Linked DNA regions of Homo sapiens: regions 2 and 3 are each linked to region 1. Evidence: promoter capture Hi-C in 16 types of primary human blood cells and fetal thymus (Javierre and others, 2016). All regions are on one chromosome and are shown on one strand. The core of a region is centred on a gene start or on the middle of the fragment in contact, and the rest is flanking DNA. Distances in the headings are between cores, read along the strand shown. Region 1 holds the start of STARD5 (StAR related lipid transfer domain containing 5). Region 2 overlaps EFL1 (elongation factor like GTPase 1). Region 3 overlaps EFL1 (elongation factor like GTPase 1).

Region 1 (3,545 bases), core at 857-3,356:
TAACTTTGGTTAATATACTGGTAAATAGGTTACTTCCAGTTGCAAGATTAATTTTATGCATCTTTGTGCAGGAAGAGTCACTGGATCAAAGAACAAGTAGAGTAAAATTTTAATATATGTTGTTATTCTGTTCCCAGGAGGTTGCATACATTTGTACTCTCATCCGCTGTGTAACAACTATTTCTCCATACCCTCACCAACACAGGGTATAAACAAACTTCATGTTTGTCCATCAATAGGTTTTAAGAAAAGCCTCTCCTTGCTTTAATTTTTAATTCCCTAACAATGAGTGAGGTTCTGCATCTTTTTATAGCTTTGTTAGCCATGTCAATTAATTTTTCCACAAAGTATCTTTCCATGTCTAATGCATTCTTTTTGTTTATGGGGTTGTCTGAAAATTGCTTAATGATTTGTATGAGCCCTTGGTTCGATAAGAAAACTTATGTGTTAAAGTGTGTCCCGATTTTTTTCTCATATTATCTAACTTTTTATGAAATTTTGATGTGCTTAATTTTTTAATGGGATTAATTTACTAGTCTTTTCTTTTATGGGTCCTAAGAGTATTTACATGCGTTACTTCCCTCTCTCTTCACAAGGGCATAGGGAACATTTATTTGTTTGTTTGTTTATTTTTATTACTTTTTGAGACAGGATCTTGCTCTGCAGCCCAGGCTGGAGTGCAGTGGCGCGATCACGGTTCACTGCTGCCTCTGCCTCCCGGGTTGAAGCGATCCTCCCACCTCAGCCCCCCCAAGTAGCTGGGATTACAGCCCCGCGCCACCATGCCCGGCTAATTTTTGAATTTTTAGTAGAGACGGAGTCTCGCCATGCTGCTCAGGCTGGTCTCGAACTCCTAGGTTCAAGTGATCTCCTGCCTCAGCCTCCCAAAGTGCTGGGATTACAGGCGTGAGCCACCGGACCCCGCCAGGAACATTTATGATGTATCCCATTTCACCTTGGAGTAAACTGAAGCTCAAAGAATAATGAGTGAAACTGGGTTTAGATCTTGAGCTCCCTAATTCCCCATCCAGGTCTTCTTCACAGCCTGGCTGCCCTTCACATCTTCCAAAAAGGTCTTTCAAGTTGTCAATTTGTTTACACTACTCTTCCAAACATTTATATCGAAAGTTTAAAGGAAACAATAAGTACATAAAAAAGAAAGATAAGAAATAGACCTCAGTATTAACCTTTTCAAATATTTAGTTGGTGATAGCGCAGAAGAGGGGAAACCGAGGCTGTCCTTGCCATTCACGCTGTGAAGATGCGACCCTGGCTCACTCCCCGCAGCTCCAGGGCAGCTGGAAGCAGAGAACTCCCATATCTCTAATAAAGCCGGGCCTCTCGCAGATGTCAGCGCATTGCATTGACTCCTGGACACCTGCACTAAAGGCCCTTCAGGCACCTCCAACTAAATATGCCCAGAACTGAACTCACCCTATCTCTTCTCCATCTCAGGTAAGCTGCCAGGTGGCCAAGGCTGGGAGTCATGATGCTTTCTCCTTCTGAACATCCACAATCGGGGGCAGAGACCTTCACCTTCCATCTCCTAAACACTCTACGATGGGTCCTCTTCTCTTCACCCCCACTCCCCGCACCCCTGCCACACACCTCTCCCACCATTGCACGCGCCCAGTCTCCACGCGCATTTCCTCTCCCACCCTGCAGCAGCCGCCCTAGCATATTACCTCTAATGCAAATCGCACCACTGTCCCGCAGGCTGAAAGCCTCGGTGCACTCAGGACAAGAGTCCACGCTTCTTAAACAAACGGTCGACGTTGTCCGCGACCTGGCCCGGCCCAACGGGTCAGACCGTCATTGGCCATCTCACAGTCCCGGCGCTCCAGAGCCCCTCCCACAGCGGGACATGAAGGAGGCGGATACGGCTGGACCTTACCCGGCCCGCCCAAGGCGTCCGGGACCCGCCCAGGCGCTGACGCTAACTGGAGAGCCTGGCCCCGCGGTCTCCTTGTCCTGCCAATCTCCGGGAGGCGGGATCCGTCTGAGGGCCTGGACCAATTCGGGAGCGGGGGCGCGGAAAGAGGCGGGGCTACGAGCTCCTCCCAGAGCTCCAGCCTCCAGGCACCCGGGATCCAGCGCCGCCGCTCATAACACCCGCGACCCCGCAGCTAAGCGCAGCTCCCGACGCAATGGACCCGGCGCTGGCAGCCCAGATGAGCGAGGCTGTGGCCGAGAAGATGCTCCAGTACCGGCGGGACACAGCAGGCTGGAAGATTTGCCGGGAAGGCGTGAGTGAGGAGCTGGGCGGGAAGGGGTCGCGGAGACGGCTTCGTGGAGCCCGGGTCCCCAGAAGCCCCCAAGCGCCTCCTCTCCCCGTTGTTTTCTGCTCCCCAATCCCCTGGACCCGATTGAGAGGGATTCCAATGGGGATTGTTTTCTTCTTTAAAAAAAAGATTGGGCCTGTTATGCTCACAATGACTTCAGGTGGTAAGTATCTGTTCCTTTCACTCAGTGACTTGCCCAAGGTCACCTGGCTGTTGAATGCTGTTTAGGACTGGATGTTTCTGTGACAGTGGTAAAAGTAAATAAATTGCATTTAAGGGGTAAGCAGGTGTTTAAAAACAAAACAAAATGAAAGAATGTGGTCGCAGCTAAGGAGGTTTTTACATGTTGTTTAAATCCAGTAAAGTCTGATCCAGCATCTGATGCATACTAAGGTTTTCTTCTGTGTTCATTACAGCATGAACCCCTCTCTTTGTCGTTGCCAGAGGGTAGCATGGGAGTAGTTTTGCTTGACCCTTCTGACTTTTCATTACAGCATGAACCCCTCTCTTTGTCGTTGCCAGAGGGTAACATGGGAGTAGTTTTGCTTGACCCTTCTGACTTTTCATTACAGCATGAACCCCTCTCTTTGTCGTTGCCAGAGGGTAGCATGGGAGTAGTTTTGCTTGACCCTTCTGACTTTTCATTACAGCATGAACCCCTCTCTTTGTCGTTGCCAGAGGGTAGCATGGGAGTAGTTTTGCTTGACCCTTCTGACTTTTCATTAAGTAGCCCTGGGTTGCTCAAGGAAACAGAATGCCTGGTGGCTTTTAAGATAATTTTAAAAACCACCCACGGCTCTTGGAGTCAGCCAGTTAAGATCTTTTTCTTCATCACATTCTGCTGTGGGGACAGCTTTGCCCAAGACTAGTCCCAGCTTTTCCACGTATGGGTTGCACAGCCTTGGAGAGTCGTATCTCTTGAGGCCTCTTACCCCTCTTCTGTAGAACAGGGGATTAAGCCAGGTGACCAGAGCCCTTCTAGCTCTAAAATTCTGTGGTTCTGTGCCTTTTGACAGAATGGAGTTTCAGTTTCCTGGAGGCCATCTGTGGAGTTTCCAGGGAACCTGTAAGTGCATGCCTCGTTCAAAGATTACCAGAGGTGCCGCACCCTTCCTGGTATCTTTATGGGCCTGCCTCCTAAAATATTCAAATCAACCCTATAACCTGTGATCACTTGTCCTCCAGAAAAGCCTTACTGTTTTTAATGAAATCATTTCCAGCAAACTGTATTCTTGTGAAAGCTTACTGTCCATTTCTGCAGGC
Region 2 (3,491 bases), core at 38-2,537, 830 kb before region 1:
TTTTTGAAGGTCTTGCCTGAACACTTTGTGATATAGCCATTCCAAGGTCGGCTTCTAGGTTCCATTTGTTAAAACACTTGATTTTAATGACCATTATCACTGGAAAAGGCACCTCACAAAATTGCATAGTCCAAAGGGAAGAATGATTCGTTGGCTTCCTTTACTAAGTCACGTTATCCATTTTAGTATTCCATTTTCCCAATTATTAAAAGGTTTTGGTAAAATGTATATAGTGAACATCTAGTTTTCCTGATGGCAGTCCATTTTTCTTACACTAATTAGAAGGTTTGTTAATTCTTATATCTTTATTGAACTATCCATTTGGTGATTTTAAGAACAGGTTAAGAAAATCACCTTCCAAATTGTAAGAGGTTTTTATACATTATACATGAAGTATTTATGTTATCTTTGGCAACCAAATAGCTGTCAGCGGCAACATTTTCAAACACCTAATTTCAAAATGTTGTCTCCATGTTTCAAATTTCTTTTGAAAAAAAAAAAAAAACTTTTCTTATTGTTAAACTGTTACCTTTATTTTACCTTGAAGAGACAGATTTAAGTGTGTATATATTTTTTCAGAAATATTTGTTGGGATCTCATCTTGGTGATAACCATTGTTTTTACTTTATAATTTGTTTGATGGAGAGCTGACAAAAAGCTTTGCCATTTCTTTTTTTATTATTCCCATGTGCTTATGTTATTAGTATTATAGTATTATCAGTGATATCTTTGCAGGAATCCTTTTAAGCCAGGTTTAAAATTCTGTGAAGGCTTAGTTAACACTAGATAATATCTGAAAATCCACTTAATTAGACAAAAAAAAAATTACAGTATGCCAAAAAGGAACAAATGAAGGTGCCTCTGTCAACCCTGGACACAGTGAAATCCCACTTTCCGTCTTCCCTTGGGATTCTTTGCATTCCATATGTGGCTTTTGATCACCTGACCTACAAGTGTGCTGACATCCATCCGCAGAGCATGGGCTCTCTGGCTGGCTGCCCAGCTTCTAAACCAGGTTCTGCCACTTAGTTAGTCTGGGACCTTGAACACAAGTTTATTAGTTTCTCTATACCTGTTTCCTCATCTATAAAATGAGAACAATCATCATACCGCCTCATCGTTAATGAGCTCATATATGTAAAGTGCTTGTCTGGCACATTGTTAGTGCTATGAAATGTTAGTTATTATTAGAACTTTATTTCAAAAATAAATAGGTATAGAAGTTCTAATATTCCTGCTCCCAGTTAATCGACTTTTATAAGGCATGTTGAAAATCATTGCATTGCAGAAAGTTCCTGTGATTTTGTTTGTTTGACATGCTGAAAACCAAGCATTGAGGAATTGCTAAGTCTTTTCTTCAAATGTAGAATTGAAACAAGACTGCATAAAAACGTCTTTAAGACCAAGGTTTCTGCTAAGGCAGCTGCAAGAGACTTCCTTGGACCTGCCTTGAGGGAGCAGTAGCAGTTGAGTATGTGGAAAGGGGGTGAAAAAGCAGCTAAACCCAAGATGTAGGTCACAGTCCCTATCCCTACTCTCAACTCCCAGGAAAAAGCAATTATATATGAAAAATACATGCAGAACACAATGCAGAAGATGCCTTTAGCTCACCAGATAAAGTAGCTAGTTAGGGTATTCTAAAACCCAAGTTCTAGCAAGCAGTTTCACAAATAATTATTTTTAATATGAGGCTCTGGTACAGTTTCTTGAATATCACATTAAATGTTTCTTTTGCTTATTTGTTGATTTTATAGGCGATGTTTGAGGAAATGCTCTGTTTCATTTCTAGGTATATAATGTATACATTCGTTATAAGATTTAGGTGAATTCACAAGTAAAAAGATGGTAGCTTGTATCTGCAGAGTATTTGAAGAAGTAATATAGATCAGCTTTGGGAGTCTTGATGGTAAGCTTGCGGATGTGTCATGTTTGCTATCTGTACAAAAAAATTACTAGAAGGTAGTTTTCTTCACATCACTACACTATCTGGAAGAAAAATAAATTGTTGTTTTAAGAGTTTATTTCAATGTAATTTTCCCTTCAGTAGCCAGAGCCATTGTCTTTGAATTGTGTTAGTTCTTATATCATATTTAATCTATTTCGTTTTGTTAACCTAGGTGAAATGCCTCAGCTCGTAAAAGGAATGAAACTGTTAAACCAGGCTGATCCCTGTGTCCAGATTTTAATTCAGGAAACGGGAGAGCACGTTTTAGTCACAGCAGGAGAAGTCCACCTTCAGCGATGCCTGGATGACTTAAAAGAAAGGTTAGGTGAAAATGATAGCGATGGAGAAATGATAGCTCTCAATCAATGGGATGTTTTAGTGTTTCCTAAACCAGTTGAACTTAGACTGCGGCTTATTTTTGGAGAAAAATGAAATGCCCTCAATTCAGACATGAACAGTTATTCGATTGTAGACTTATTTTTTAATAACTGAAAAATGGCATTCACTGCCTACACTTGAATAATTTTGCATTTTTAGCTTAAGTCATAAAATGTTTTTCTGTGTATGTATTTTACTTTAAGCATGTACACAAAACACACAAAATACCAGGACAACAAAACAAGATATTATTTTGTAAATGTTGGCTATGTAATTAGGATAGACTTCTTCTCTTATTGATGTGGTCTTTACAATGTAAACCTTCTGGAAATCTTTATGTTTTTCTATAAAGATGATATGTATTATAAAATGGGCATCCCAAATTTTTATAACGGGCATTTTTCTTCTTTGTTCCAAAGATAATGTATGTTTATTGCAGAAATTAGGAAAATGCAGAAGAAGAAAAAGAATCATTCAGTTATCATGCAGAAATAACCACCATTACATTCAGATTCATAAATCTGCACTGTTCTATGCATATTCAAATATACACAAATATCTATATACACAGTTCTGATTATTTGGTTAAGATAAACTTCTGGAAGTATTATAGCTAGCTCAAAAAGTATGCATATTTTTAAGGATTATGATCCATATTTTCCTCAAGAAAGACTGTTCTAATTTACATTATAACTAGCAATAAATATTTGAACTTGCCTCTTCTCAAACTTTTGCCAACTTTGCATAGTTTATCATTTTCTAAAAATTTCACCAATCTTGAAGACAAATGAAAGATATTCATGGTTAATATACATTTCTGTGCTTACTAGTAGAAAAAATTATAAACTGCCCTGTAATGGCCTTCCTTCTTTTTGTTTTTAAAATTTCTGGGACTATAATCATAATCATAACAAAAATAATAATTATAAATGATTGATATAGTCATATATTAAATAACAGTCACTGTGTTAAGCACTATTTATCTCAATCTTTATACCACAGTAAAATCGGTGGTAGTAGTAACTATACAACAACACCTGGTACTAATAATAGAATAAGAATAACTGCTGCTGGCCAGGCACGGTGGCTCACGCCTCTAATCCCAGCACTTTGGGAGGCCAGGGCGGGCAGATCACGAGGTCAGGAGATCGAGACCATCCTGGCCAAC
Region 3 (3,652 bases), core at 780-3,279, 910 kb before region 1:
CCGAAAGATGATACTAGAGCTAAATAAATTGAAGTAATGCATATATGATGAAAATAGAAATTGTGAACCTGCTGAGAATTTGTACTTTTCATATATGGTTGATGGGTTGTCATTATCACCTTTCTAGGCCTCAGTTTACTTATCTGAAAAAACAAGAATATTGGGCTAAGATGATTTCAAGACTTTCTTTAGATTCATTCACAGTGATTCATTCAGTCATATAATACGGTCGTACTTGTTGATTTCCTGATTTGTGAGCATTCTGCTAATAAGCCACAAGATGGGAGGCTTGTCCCTTTCTTACATTGATTTTCATAAGTAATTCAATGTTTTATGCTAATTTTAGTCTAAATCACACAAATTGGGGGAAGTTTATTGTGGAAGGACAGGGAATAGGGAGAAAGTTGAATGGATAGAATAAGGGTAATTTACATAGCCCTTACTTTTGACATTTTTAGATACTATCAGCCAATAAATGAATGTTCCCCTGTATTAGACAAGGTCAGATTTAGAGATTGGCTACTGTCTGTTCTCAACAAGTTGATATGTGAATTTATGGGAAAGTAGTGGTGGAAATGAAAGCACCAGAGACTTTTTCCTTCCCCTTTTCCTCTAAAATGTCAGTGAATAGGCCAAGTTGACAGCTGCATGTGTCACAAAAGGTGGAAAATGAGCACATTCCAGAATTTGCAAGATGGTTCTATAAACTCTGCAGTGGGAAAGGATTAAGAAGTGTGACTAGAGGCTGAACCTAGGTCTTCTCCCGAAATCTATCCTGTTAATTGATGTTAATCTGGGAGAGTCTGCTCTGAAAAGCAGAAGCATATTGACTTGGATGGGTAGCATCAAGAATCTAAGTTCTTGTTTTAGATACATAGAACTGAGTCCTCAACCTTATAGAAGAGGGACAGGAGAGAAGAGAAATGAAAAGCCCTTTGTAATAGATTTACTTGTCTTTGTGTAACTGAGTATTAGAATTCTGTAATTAACATTAATCTACTGGGTAGCTTGGAGGGCAAAAGGGTGTGTGTGGCTCAGTAATTTCATACTTGACTGAGTTGTCATTCAGGAAGATAGGCAATGAATAGATCAGTAGTCTTGGAATATAAATCTTTCTGCAGGTCTCTTAGAATCTTGCTTGCAGTTACTCTGTAGAGGAAATGAATTAAAATAGAATTCAAGAATGGGGAAGTGCTAGAAATTGTCAGTGTTTAAAAATTGTAACTAATGACAAAAATAAATAAAAACACTAGCAGTAATGTCGAATGGGTTGATGTTAAGCAAATTTTGTAGTAACTACGGGATAAAAAAGAATGAAAAGGATAAGCAACAAGATTTTTGAAAGATTTGTGTACCCGTATGTGTACACATGTGTGAATATTTAATATGGTGGACTAGAAGAGCCTAGCCTAAGCAAATGGGCAAATGTCTTACTATAATTTATGATTTTGATAGAGGTTTTAGAGTGTTTATTTATAAAAATCTTTAAGTTTACCACTTTCAGAATTAAGAGCAGGATATTTATCTGACATATTATAAAAGATAAAATAATGTATAATACAGTCTGGGTAACACAAATCAACATTTAAAAAAAAATCCTGGAAGAATAGAAACCACACCAGAAATCTAACTGATCAAAACAGTTGTACCAATAAATGATTATACCAATAAATGTATGAAATCCCCTACTAAGGAGATATTTTTTAGAAAGGAAATTTTATTAAAAAAATAAATCCATAAGTTTGCTACATAAAAGAGATAAACTTAAAGCATAATGGACAGAGGCTAAATACCAAAGCTTTAGCTCAGATTATGTCAACCAAATGTGAATGAAAAGAGAGGTTTGGCAATATTAACAATAAAATAGGATTTATGGTAAATGAATTATGGCATAAGGATCATTTTCATATAGATAATTGACACATTTACTAGTGAAGAGATTAACTATCAATTATCATAACAACAAAGTGCATGAGGCAAAAATAGAACTATAAGTAGAACTCTGTAGGCACATGGTTTGGGGGCGATTTTCACAGGTTAGTAGACAGGAACATGAACCATATGAATAGAATAATTAAAGTCAGAATTTAAGTGTCAGTGAAGGATATACAAAAATTGGTCCTATATCAGGTGAAAAAATAATTCAAATTTAAAAGAAAGAAAATGTCACAGGTTTCATGTATTCATCGCTCAGTCATTATCTCTGGTTTTAACCATCTAAGAATAGACCCAAGTCGCCAATATGGAGAGCAAAGCTTCAGCTGTATTATTGAGGCCCCAGGGAGCATCACTACTAACAAATAGGGCTCCCTTCTAAGGTTAGGTTGGAGAGTGCCTGGGAAGTCAGTCCACAGTGGTTGCCTCCTATTGTTTCTTTCCATATGTGGACCTTGGACCTGCCTGTAGGTCCTGAATTGGATTTGCAAATCTGCATGGCAGGTTGCAGCCTGCCTAGCAAAACTGGGTATTTATAAATGAAAAGCCACAGAGATAAGGGTATCCTGACTTAACATCTGGAAGTAAGGCTCTGTGTGCCGTTCTGGGTGTGCTGAAACACCGGAAGCCAGGAGGAGGCCTGAATCTTTTTAGGGATCCACAGAGTAGGCAGCAAGGCAGAGCCTGCTTTCTTTTTGAGGCATAGGAACTCTACCAGTGGATTTCAGCCTTTCACCTTGTCTTCATTTGTGGAAGAGTGATTAAAGAGTCACGTGTGAACAAAGATAGTTTTATTTCTTCTTTTCTAATCAGTATACCCTTTATTTCCTTTTCTTGTGCGATTGCATTAGGTTGGGCTTTCAGTATGGTGTGGAAAAAACTGGGGATATCCTTTTTTTTTTTCCTGAGCAGGCATCTTTTAAGATGCTGGTACTTTGAAAATTCTAATCTCAAACCTTAAACTAGATTGTTCTCTAAAGAAAAGGTATTTCTTAGGTCCTTTATCCAGACAATGCAGATGCTGTATATAGGACCCTTAGTTGTTGATTGACTGTCTTCCTGTGACTGGAGACCACGGTGGTAAGTGGTTTTTCTCTGTGGGTTGATGCGAGTTAAGTCAGTGTGTGTATGTTTACCATTAATCTAGGATAATAAAAATCTTGTTTTGGCAGGTTGTGGCTCAAGAATTTCTTTCATTTGTGAGCAGCTGTCACTTAACAGCAGTGAGTAGCTGAAATAAAATTTTATTGTTGGCATAGTTGTGACAGGCAGCTGGAGCTTGCATTTTCTTGTCCCTAATTTTATCTTGTTTTACACCTGCAAAATTAAGAAAGAAAGCTATAGCATGTAGTACAATTCATATTGGTGTAGACCTGAACATGGGCTTTGGAGCCAGACCGCTTGGATTTAAATCCCCACCTCACTTGTTCCCTGTGTGATATCTCTGCTTCATTACCCTTTTCTGTAAAATGAGGAAATTTTGTAGGATACTGGATTAAGTTTAGTAATACACGTGTAAAGAAGTTTGAACAGTACCTGTCACAGAAATCAATAATCGTTGTTATTAATAACATGAACATTTGGTCTTCTTTCAGAATTGAGCACTTCGCCAGAATCTACAGTCAAAAAATTGGCATCAAAAAGGAAGTTCTTATGAAAACCTTGTGGGGAGATTACTATATAAATATGAAGGCTAAAAAGATCATGAAGGGTGATC

What was found. The method cuts DNA at HindIII sites, captures the fragments that hold promoters and counts their contacts. A CHiCAGO score of 5 or more calls a contact.
Region 2: a contact is called between a fragment that was not itself captured here and the fragment with the promoter of STARD5 in region 1, in 1 of 17 cell types (erythroblasts). The highest score is 5.3, in erythroblasts.
Region 3: a contact is called between a fragment that was not itself captured here and the fragment with the promoter of STARD5 in region 1, in 1 of 17 cell types (erythroblasts). The highest score is 5.7, in erythroblasts.

Annotation. Positions count from the first base shown.
Region 1 is chr15:81,322,702-81,326,246 of GRCh38, reverse strand. STARD5 (StAR related lipid transfer domain containing 5) reads left to right here and starts at 2,106. Exons shown (of 6, transcript NM_181900.3): 1 at 2,106-2,246; 2 at 3,299-3,348. The coding sequence starts at 2,148. It overlaps TMC3-AS1 (TMC3 antisense RNA 1), which reads right to left and starts at 1,914. Exons shown (of 7, transcript NR_120365.1): 1 at 1,686-1,914. RefSeq lists a silencer at 1,565-1,614. The HindIII fragment of the contact is 9,334 bases long and covers 1-3,525 here.
Region 2 is chr15:82,156,487-82,159,977 of GRCh38, reverse strand. It overlaps EFL1 (elongation factor like GTPase 1), which reads left to right. Exons shown (of 20, transcript NM_024580.6): 17 at 2,118-2,265. Among named protein-coding and RNA genes, the nearest start is that of LINC01583, 70 kb to the right of the region's middle. The HindIII fragment of the contact is 1,253 bases long and covers 661-1,913 here.
Region 3 is chr15:82,230,850-82,234,501 of GRCh38, reverse strand. It overlaps EFL1 (elongation factor like GTPase 1), which reads left to right. Exons shown (of 20, transcript NM_024580.6): 8 at 3,531-3,652. Among named protein-coding and RNA genes, the nearest start is that of EFL1, 30 kb to the left of the region's middle. The HindIII fragment of the contact is 457 bases long and covers 1,801-2,257 here.